Linked DNA regions of Homo sapiens: region 2 is linked to region 1. The links are contacts of gene promoters, found by promoter capture Hi-C in blood cells and fetal thymus (Javierre and others, 2016). All regions are on one chromosome and are shown on one strand. The core of a region is centred on a gene start or on the middle of the fragment in contact, and the rest is flanking DNA. Distances in the headings are between cores, read along the strand shown. Region 1 holds the start of SLC16A2 (solute carrier family 16 member 2). Region 2 overlaps SLC16A2 (solute carrier family 16 member 2).

Region 1 (5,041 bases), core at 2,488-4,987:
CCCATATCCCTTCTAACTTCTGTGGCTTTTTCCCATGCCCAGAGGCACTCTGATGTGGAGCTGTTCCTCAAACATCAAAACTACCTTTCTTCCCAGCTACTTGGGAGGCTGAGGCAGTAGGACTGCTGGAGGCCAGGAGTTTGAGACCAGCCTGGGCAACATAGCAAGAGTCTGTTTTTAAATAAATAAATAAATAAATAAAAATTAGCCAGGTGTGGTGGCGCATGCCTGTAGTTCTAGCTACTTGAGAAGCTGAGGTGGGACGATTGCTTGTGCCCAGGAGTTTGAAGGTGTCGTGAAATATGACTGCGCCACTGCACTCCAACCTGGTCAACAGAGCAAGATCCCATCTCTAAAAATAAAGTATAAGAAACTACCTTTCTGTGGGGCTTCCTCACAACAATCCCAATCATCTGCAGGACCTTCCACCCATTAAGCCACTCAACACAGCTTTAGGTCTGTGAAGATATTAGGCCTAGTCAAAGAGAAATTGGGTTACGAGGTGCCTCCAAACACCAAATTCATAGACTCTTAGAGATGGAAGTCATGTCAGATATTAATAAAAATGGACGATGCACCAAATTCCTTGAGCGTGGGGGTGTACATTCTGTTTCTCCCAGAATGGCTATTGGACAAATACTGGCTGATAAAAATGACACAAACTTCTATTAGCTTCTTCTATCCCTTTGAGACACCAGTGCTGTGGCACAGACGGCTGGGAAATTTTGAGTAAACAGCAGAAAGTGTCTGCAGGCAAAGACATTCAGAATCTCAGGATCTGAATGGTTGCTTGGGAAAGTTGAAGAGCTCAGCAAAGGTAGTACTGAGGATGAGATTTTCTAGGAGCTCCATGTGATAGGGTGTTCCTGACTTTTCCAAAATAAAAACTGTGGTGTCCCTAAGAACCTCTAGTATAAAAAATAATGTCAGTGAGTTCAAGATACACCACAGCAAGGACCCAAGCCAAAGTATTCTGAGACCCTAGGGACATACCAAATTCCTTTCTGTTTCTTCCTGACCTATACTCACTATAATTTAAACCAGTGACCTCAGCCCCTCAGTGAACCTGGTCTGTGTCAGAGTATGCACTAGCCACACCTCTGCATAGCCAACTGCACCCCCACCACCACCCCCACCCTCTAGCTGCACTGTGAGGTCTTGACCGGAAAGTCCCAGCCAGCCCTCCCCCTGAGTCCCCTATGATCACCTACTTTGAAGTCTGTTCCCCAGCAGTGAGCCTCTTCCTGGTAAAATAGTGGTTTTTCCAAGTTTTATTATACACTCCTAAGATCACAGCTCTAGGCCTCCTCACACCATATAAATGCCAGGGCCTAGCTTCAGCCTAGCCTCTACTGCTTCTCATCAAGTTTCACTCAGACTTTGCCACTCACTGATCCTGAAGGCCAACAGCCTGCCTTCAACCACAGGGCAATGCTCAGCAGGTGCCCTTGGAGGTAACCTAGGCAACAGCATGAGTCCCTACACTGCCTGCTTTCCCAGGAGCCCCTGAACTGCATCAAAGCAGGGAAAAAGGTGGTCCCAGGGGTGACTGTGGCAGCCATCTTCCCCGCAGAAGTTGCTCTACACTGTCCCAGGACCCCTCCATTCCAGCATCACAGTGGGCCTGGGTAGTCAAGAGACTTCCTTTGACAACCACTGACGCACTATCTTCATCGGGGCCTGCACACCGCTGCTGTGCCAATGGATCACAAGGTCTGAGGCACCAAGATCCCCAAAGCCCCTTCTGCCAGGGAAGTCCAGCAAAGCTGCAAACTAAAACCACAAGTCCTGGAGAGGGCCCAGGGAATCCACAGGTGGACACTCCAGAATTCAAGGTTTCTATGTTCACTTAATAATTCCCAGGTCCCCTCAAATGGCAGTAGAAATATGTGGGGGTTGGAGGTTGGCGAGAGGATGGAACTCCTCAGTCCGAGGGCAACACTGCGAAAAGCCACATATTCTGAGTTGTGAACTTGGGGCTGGTGGCAAGAGTCGAGCTGTCCTGAGGAGCCACGAGAGGGAGCAAGCCTTGCCAGAGAGGGCATCCCAATCCCCCGTCTTCGTCTGAATCCCTCACCAGAACTGCTGAGGGATTTCGCCAGCGGCTTTGCTGGGAAAGCGAGATGGTTCCTCTGACTTCTCCCAGCTCACAGGCGGCCTCAATGAGAAGAGCGCACACGCCTGGGGTCTTGCGTCCACTGGCCTGGAAAGCGAGGGCTATGCCCCCCAACTCTGTCTGAGATCAAGTCAGCTCCAGGGGAAAGCTGGAATGGCGGGTCTGGCACTCAGGCTGTAGGCCGAACGAGGCACCCCACCGGTAGCAGAGAGGCGCGGGTTGCCGGGGAAGGCAGGGCTGAAGTTGGGGGCGGTGCGGAGTGAGCAGCAGGGCCCAGCCTGCCTGCGGCCTCACGCCTCTCTGGCAGGAGACTGCGGAGACCGCCTCCCCGCCCGCTCTGGGGCTCGGCTCATAGGGCACGGAGATCCATTCACTCCCGCGGGGCGGCAGAGGACTGCCGGGCCCAGCTGGGCCGTAACGGCGGCGGCCAGAGACGCACTCACACCCCGACTCGAACTCCCTCCCTCCCTTTCTCTCTTGCAGACACGCACGCCTGCCATGTGTTTGACTCTTCGCTCATAGTCATCAGGATTCCTAAAGTGTTTTTAACAGAAAACACCTCCGTTTCCCCAAAGGAACCGGGGGGCTGCTGCGGAGATCAGCGGTACAGTGCTTCTCTCAGAGCCCGCCCCGCCTCTCAATTCTCTCCTCTCCTCATGACTTCTCCCCACCTCCAAAAAAAAAAAAAGTCCTGCAAATATTTTCCCCCAGCACACAGGGGCAAAGGTACCTTAAACCTGAAAGGTGCATTTAGATTTGTCCCAGGGCAAAAAAAAGTCCATTGCTTGCCAAGGATCAATGAATGTCCCAGTTCGTACCCCCGGGACGCCTTGCACCTAGTCTCCCCAGTCCAAGCTGCCCAAAGCCCCGCAACCCGCACCCTAGGAGAGCCATGGAAAGGGGCAAGGGGCAAGGGGTAAGGGGTAAGGGGAGGAGTCGGAGAGGCGCGTTGGAGGGGCGCCTCGGACCGGGAGGTATGGGGTCGGTGGCAGCGGGAGCGGCCAACCTTGCCCAAAATGCCAAGTGGGGCGTGCGGGGCCACTCACCTGCTTGGAACTCCACTTGGCGATTTTTTTCCTTTTCCTCCTCTAGCAGCATGGAGTAGAGGATCCCGACAGAGTTATGGATGCCGAAGATGGAGCCGTTGCACCAGGTGGCAGCGAACACCACCACCCAGCCGAAGCCACCTTCGGGAGGCTGGAAGCCGCGCGCGGTGCCGCGGGTCTCTACCGTAGGCGTGGGCTCGGGTTCGTGCACCCGCTCGGACTCGAACTCCAGCTCCGGCAGGGGTGCGGGGTCCGGTAGGGGCTGGGGCTCCGGCTGGGGCTCGGGCGGGGGCACTGGCACGGGCTCGGGCTCGGGCTCAGGCTCCGGCTCAGACTCCGGCTCTGGGCTACCCACCGGCTCCTGCTGTTCCTGGTCTGCCTCCTGCCAGGGCCCCTTTGCTTCCTCGCTCGCCTGGCTTTGCAGCGCCATCGCGGCGGGGGGACTGTGGCTGCTTGGGCCAGAGGAGCCGCTTTGTGGCTGGTACTTGTTTCTGCTGCTGCAGCTGCTGCTGCTCGGAGGGCTGCTGCTGCCGCTGCCGCTGCCTCCTCCTCCAGGCTCCGCGCCCCAGCTGGCCAGCCCGTCCCGCGACAGACGGTCCCTCGAGCCCTCTCCTCCTCCTCCCACGTCCAACCCCCCTCCTCCTCTCCCCATGTCATCTCTCTCTCCTCCCCCTCCTCCACACCCCCCACCTCTTCCTCCCTCAACAGGCAGCCGCTACAGCCTCGCTCTTCTCCCCAGCCCTTCCTCCTCCTTTTACTCGCCTACCTACTCCAGCCGCCACTGCCTCCCCCAGCTCCCTTCCCAAACTACTGAACCCTGTTCTTGCCCGGATGCCCGTTAGAGGAAAAGTTAAAATGGAAAAAAGGAAGCACAAACTATCCTGTTCTCCTGCCCTCTTTTCCCCGCAGGCTCTAGAACCGACACTGATCAACCCCGAGCCTCGGGAAGACCCCTCCTATTTTTTGCTCCCATACCCTCCTTCCTCACAAGCAGCCCGCAACTGAGGTGGCACCGGGGACCCTAGGACGACAGCTGGCCCGCGAGGAACCCCACCCTGCCCTCAGGAGCTCCCATGTCCCTCCTTGGACTTGAGGAGGACGACCTGAGGGGACAGCCTGGGCCTCGGACAGCGGGTGGACACAATCTTCTCGAGCCCGAGGACTCGGCCCCCCGCGGTCCTGCGCACCCCCGGGAGTCTCCCCCTGCCCCCGCTCTTCCCGGCAAATCCCTGGCGGCCTGGGAGGGGAGGAGGCGGCCATGCAGCGAGGCCCGCCCCTCCGGGCAGTCAATCAGGGCTTTGTTTGCGCCAACCTGGAGCCCGGAGGAGCCTCAGAGGGCCGGGTCTGGGCCGGGCCAGGGCCGGGCCGGGTCTGGGCCGGGCCAGGGCCGGGCCAGGGCCGAGTGTGGGCCAGGAGCCGGGCCAGGAAGGGAGGGAGGTGGCACCAGTGGGGGCCGGGCCCAGGCCCAGTCGGGAGCCGAAGCTCAGTTCAAGCTCCTCCCGACAATCTGTCCCGGACTTAGGAGGAACGAGTTGGAGTCGGGTCCAGCCGCCAGTTTGGGATTGGGCTGCCCCGCCCCCGATATCTCGGCTGGGCTGGTCCCTCAGGCCTCGGCCGCGGCTTTTCAGGTGCTGGAGACTCAGCGGAGCTGCAAGCGGACGGATGTCTTCCCAGCACCCACCGCCCCCTTCCGCCCACCTCAGGCATGCAGACATGGGAGTCCCACTGTATGTCGCAGACTGAGGCCCCAGCCCCACTGAGGGTAAGGGAGAGTTTGTTCCCCAGGAAGCGCGCCGGGTCAGGGAGAAGGAAAGGTGGGGGATCTGTCTTTCTGGTGGCCGGGCACTCAGCAGGGGTGCGCAGGGGTGCCCAGCCTCAG
Region 2 (5,058 bases), core at 1,861-4,360, 91 kb before region 1:
CATCTGCTGTGGGGCCCATCCAGTGGGCTTATTTTATTTTGGTTATATATTTTTCAGCTCCAAAATTTTCCATTTATTTCATCTTTATATCTTCTAATTATCTACTGAGACTTAGTATTTTTTTCATTTGTTCCAAGTGTGATTGCAATGATTTGTTAAAGCATTTTTTGTTGGCTGCTTTAAAATCCTTGCCAAATAATTCAATTTCTGTGTTATCTTCATGTTAGTGTCAGTTGATAGTCTTTTCTTGTTGAAGTCAAGATTTCCCTGGTCCTTGGTGTGATTCGTGATTTTCTATGGTATTCTGGAAATTTTAGATATGAGACTCTGGATCTTATTTAAATCTTGTGTTTTAGAAGGCCTCTTCTGATACTGTGCCATTGAGGGACAACTTCATTACTACCAAATGGGGGTGGAAATCCAGGTTCCCTGCTTAGCTTCTATTGACACTCTAAGAAGGAAGGGTACCTTGTTATTGCTGAGCAGGGGTGGGTATTCAAGATCCCTACTAGGCTTCTTTTTATATCTTCCTGGTTGGGAGGAGTAGGGGTTCCTTGTTACTGTTTCCCATGTGGTCTTACCTCAGTAAGTGATGGTGAAAGTCCCAGTTTCCTACTTGGCTTTCACTGACACCACCTTGGCACCTTGCCAGGAGTAGGAGAGGTGGTTGGAGGTTATACCCGGGCAAGAGTGAAAGTCCAGGCTCCCTATGTGGTCTCTACTGACACCATGGGGGAGGGGTAGGCCTTGTTACTGCTGAGAGGGGAAGAAATTCCTGGCTTCCTACTGTTTTCTCTGACACCACCTCAGCATGGGAGGCGGGGAGGTTGGAGCACCTTGTTACAGCTGGGTGAGTGTAGAAGTCTTGGCTCCCCAGTAGGCCTTTGTTGGCAAAGGTCAAGTGGGGTGCATTTTTTCCCATGGTGTTAGGCTGGAGTAGAGGGATTATTGTTTAAAGCTTTTTTGTTTTGCTAGGCTGCCCCTTTTCCCGTCTTTTGGCTAGACAAATCAAGCTTTTTTTTTTTTTTGGTCTGCTTCCATTGGCATTTCTTGGTTGCTGGCTTCTTCAGCTCCAGGTCTAAGATATGTGAAGCAAAAAGAAAACTCAGGTTTTCTGTTACGTTTTTTCTTAGATCCCAACTTTCCTAGCCCATGTGCCTTCTTCTCTCCACTTTTCAATCTTGCTACATTTGTTTTAGATATAATGTCCAGCATTTTTAGCTGTACTGCATTGGAAGTATAGAGAAAAGTGCCTTAATATAGTTTTTAATACTAAATGTATATTTTTAAAAATGAAGTAATTCACATGTTATATTAATTTATTCAACAATTATTTAACATTCTCTCTGGCCCAGACACATGTCTATCCCATAGGCATTCAAGATGTTAAATGAGTGACATATGGTATTTGACTTCAAGGATCTCACAGTGGAGTAGGGAACACATTGTTTTTTTAAGTAGGGCAATAAAATTTATGAACCTCATGGTTCAAGGCCAGAATAAAATTTTCTATTTAAAGATTTTCAGAGAAGTCAGAAACTCCAAGTGAGAGAAAATTTTCTATAAAGGGAGAGAAAGGTAATCTAATAGCTAGATTGTGACTGAAGAAGAATAGCGTTATATAAGAGAAGTGACTTAAGGGACTGTTAGTGGGATAGGTTATCAAAAAATTTTAGTAAGAGAAAAATAATCAAGCAATGACTGTATTAAAAAAGAAGAAATAATAGTCATGATAACAATTATGGTGACAATTATAACCTTATTGATAATAGATAGGTGTTATTGGGTGTTACTGGTTATCCTTTACCTTTCTTATATTCAGTTTCCCATTTTGGAAAATGCAAAGAGTAGGTAGAGGTTTTCTAGAATTCTAACAATTCTTGGACTCAAAGCTAGGAGTTTCTTTCATTCCCCATAATTACCCCTGCTCTTATATGGGGAAGACAAAGAAAGAGATTTCAGTGAAGCAGCTGAGATTCGTGGGAGAGTTGGGTGGATTTTAACAGGCAATGTACAGACCTATCTTTCTAAACAGACTTGGAAAAATCAGAGGTGGAACCTTGTAACATTCCATCAGGGAGAAAGCATTATTTTCAATCCACAGTGCATAAGTGCTGAGCAAGTATCTGATTCCTGACTAATAAATTTTGTGTTCAACAGATCCTTGGATTTTGAGGATGAACTATTATAATTCATATAATTCAATGGTATAATTATTATACCATTCACACTTTTCCTCAGTGGTTCCCAGAGTTATTTTCAACCTTAACCTTCCCCTCTCAGCGGTAACAAGGCCTACCCCTCTCCTATGGTATCATGGAGTGAGACTTGGCCCCAAAAGGCCTGTACCTAAGTGAACATATGTCTGTATTCAGCAGGCACCCCTACTTTCCTCCTCAAAGCACCCATATCTAACTAGATTTCTGTTGGACCTGGGCAGCACAACACCAGAACTCTGGCTTTTCCAGCACCATCCTGGATCTGTTGGCCCTCAAGCTTCCTCATCCTCAAAGTCTTTTTACTCAAATACTCAATTAGTGCCTTGGCTCCTTACCCAGGCACTCAGGCTAATGTCTTTGAAGTACAGGAGACTGCTCAGAAAATAATTCAAGTGTGAGACCAGATTCCTCACTCCTTGGCTGCTGAAAGCCAACCTCTCTGAGTTGAAAGAGAGAGAGGGGGTACTCCAAGAGCCAAACTCTCCAAATACATCACAAGCTTTCATAAATTCCTTTTATTGTGGGGAACTAACAAAAGCTCAAATGAGGGAATGACGGTGCAAAGTCAAATAAAGGTCAAAGATAGGTCAAGGGTAGATAGGAAGAGAGATAAGGTGGCTGACACAGGGGCAGAGATGGCTCTATTCAAGAGCCCCTACTTCCTGACAAGATGCACAGTACAGTGAGAGAATAGCAAATAGGATTAAGAGGACAGGTTCTAAGGCTAAGCTATCCAACTGCTATACCCAGTGCTAAGTGGAGAGAATGGCACCATGAATTGGATTCTGTGTTGCCGGAAATATTCACTTGCTTCTGCCCCATCACCACACCTCTTCAGAGTTCCCAGAACATGGTGATGTGTCTACATCTAGTTTGAATAAATGGGATAGTTGGAATGGTATTGGTTTGGCATGGGGACAGTGTGTGGTAGGTAGCAGGCAGCTTAGGACTGTGATGACTTATGCCGGCACATCCAGCCAGGTGGTGGGCACGCATTAGTGAGATGACTGAAAGAATTGGTGAAACATATTTAAAAGGAGGATGTAGGTGAAGGCACTTCAGGGGTCAGCTGGGGAGCTCCAGAGGGAAGAAATGCAAGACTCTGTTCTTCTTTGGGGACTGAGATAACAGGAGCCCTTATCTCTGCGGCTCACCAGAAGAGTGACCTCCAGCTGAGCGTCATTTATTAATTATTTCCCTGGCCTTGTGCAGGGCCCAGAGTTAAGTGCTACATAACTGTCTGTCCAGTGAATAGATGAAACACTCTTGCTCAGAGAAGCTTCTTTCAAACCTTTTTCCATTTTCTGACAAACACTGTGTTGAAAAGCTCTTTCTTCCAGCACTCAGACACTCTAAGCCCATTTACTTTGGTAGCTACTCACCATCCATCCATTGTGTCTAGAATTCTACTTCATATTTCTAGCAAATCTTTATTTTAAAAGTCCAAAAGTACTTTCATATTTGTCCTGGCATTGGGTCCTCTCAGTATCTTACTTTTTTCTTCATTATAATGTGATGGTGTTTTTCTGGGGGTGGCACAGCAATACTAGGAAACATTACTTTCCAAGCATTCCATATCTAAACAAATCGCGGCCGGGTGCGGTGGCTCACGCCTGTAATCCCAGCACTTTGGGAGGCCGAGGCGTGAGGATCACGAAGTCAGGAGATAGAGACCATCATAGCTAACACGGTGAAATCCCGTCTCTTCTAAAAATACAAAAAATTAGCCGGGCACGGTGGCGGGTGCCTATAGTCCCAGCTACTCAGGAGGCTGAGGCAGGAGAATGGCGCGAACCTGGGAGGCGGAGCTTTCAGTGAGCCGAGATCGGGCCACTGCACTCCAGCCTGGGCGACAGAGCGAGACTCCGTCTCAAAAAAAAATAAAATAAATAAAATAAAAAAAACCACGAATCTCATTTTTATCTCTCCACATTTTGTCTCAAGACATGCCAATTTTCGTGGGCTACCTAATTTGAATTTCAAAACTTTGTTTTCTTTTTAGAGACAGGGTCTTGCTCTGTCACCCAGGCTGGAGTGCAGTGGCACAATCATGGCTCACTGCAGCCTCAAGCTCCCATGCTTAAGCTATCATCCCACCTCAGTCTCCTGAGGGTAGCTAGTACTACAGGCACGCACCAATGCACCACCACACCCGGCTATTTTTTTTTTTTTTTTAAGTTTTTGAAGCGATGGGATCTTGCTATGTTGCCTAGGCTGGTCTCAAACTCCTGGTGTCAAGCCGTCCTCCCTCCTTAGCCTCCCAAAGCTCTGAGATTACAGGTATGAGCCACTATGCCCAGCCCAAGTTTCAAAGGTTTTAAAGTCAAATATTCACTGAAAATATAAGTTGTCTTATTACCTCCATATTAGGTTATTTGGCCTGCTTCCCTCTGCAGCTATTGTTTATTTACTTTCAGTTTTGGAGTTAGAAGATTTAGGGGTTCAGTTACTAATTTTACAGAGAGTCAAACTGAGACAGAGTCAAACAGAGAGACCTACACTTAAGAGTGCCCATGCCAAGTCTGAAAATGAGACATTTTAACTCTTGTCCCAGTCCTTCAAGGGTAACTGGGCTCTACTTAATGGCCTATGGCCACTGATTTGAACCCACTGGTTTTGGACAATGGTCAGTTATCTACTTTAGTAGCTAAGGCAGATTACAGGTGTTTTGTTTTGTTTTTTTTTTTTACTAAAACACACCAGTGTTGGGAGAAACTATGACTTGAAACAGTTTCCTCATCTTTCTCTGAGAAGGCTGGCCCAGCACCTACAGACTCAGATTGTCAGACATTCACCTAATGGAAAGTATGGGAAACAGGCCAAAGGCAAAGACAGACAA

The links. The method cuts DNA at HindIII sites, captures the fragments that hold promoters and counts their contacts. A CHiCAGO score of 5 or more calls a contact.
Region 2: a contact is called between a fragment that was not itself captured here and the fragment with the promoter of SLC16A2 in region 1, in 1 of 17 cell types (M1 macrophages). The highest score is 6.0, in M1 macrophages.

The regions. Positions count from the first base shown.
Region 1 is chrX:74,420,189-74,425,229 of GRCh38, reverse strand. SLC16A2 (solute carrier family 16 member 2) reads right to left here and starts at 3,737. Exons shown (of 6, transcript NM_006517.5): 1 at 3,163-3,737. The coding sequence starts at 3,592. LOC105373252 (a long non-coding RNA gene) reads left to right here and starts at 4,582. Exons shown (of 2, transcript XR_007068267.1): 1 at 4,582-4,924. The HindIII fragment of the contact is 8,329 bases long and covers 1-5,041 here.
Region 2 is chrX:74,510,233-74,515,290 of GRCh38, reverse strand. The region is part of intron 1 of SLC16A2 (solute carrier family 16 member 2); the gene reads right to left. Among named protein-coding and RNA genes, the nearest start is that of SLC16A2, 91 kb to the right of the region's middle. RefSeq lists an enhancer at 4,521-4,570. The HindIII fragment of the contact is 780 bases long and covers 2,721-3,500 here.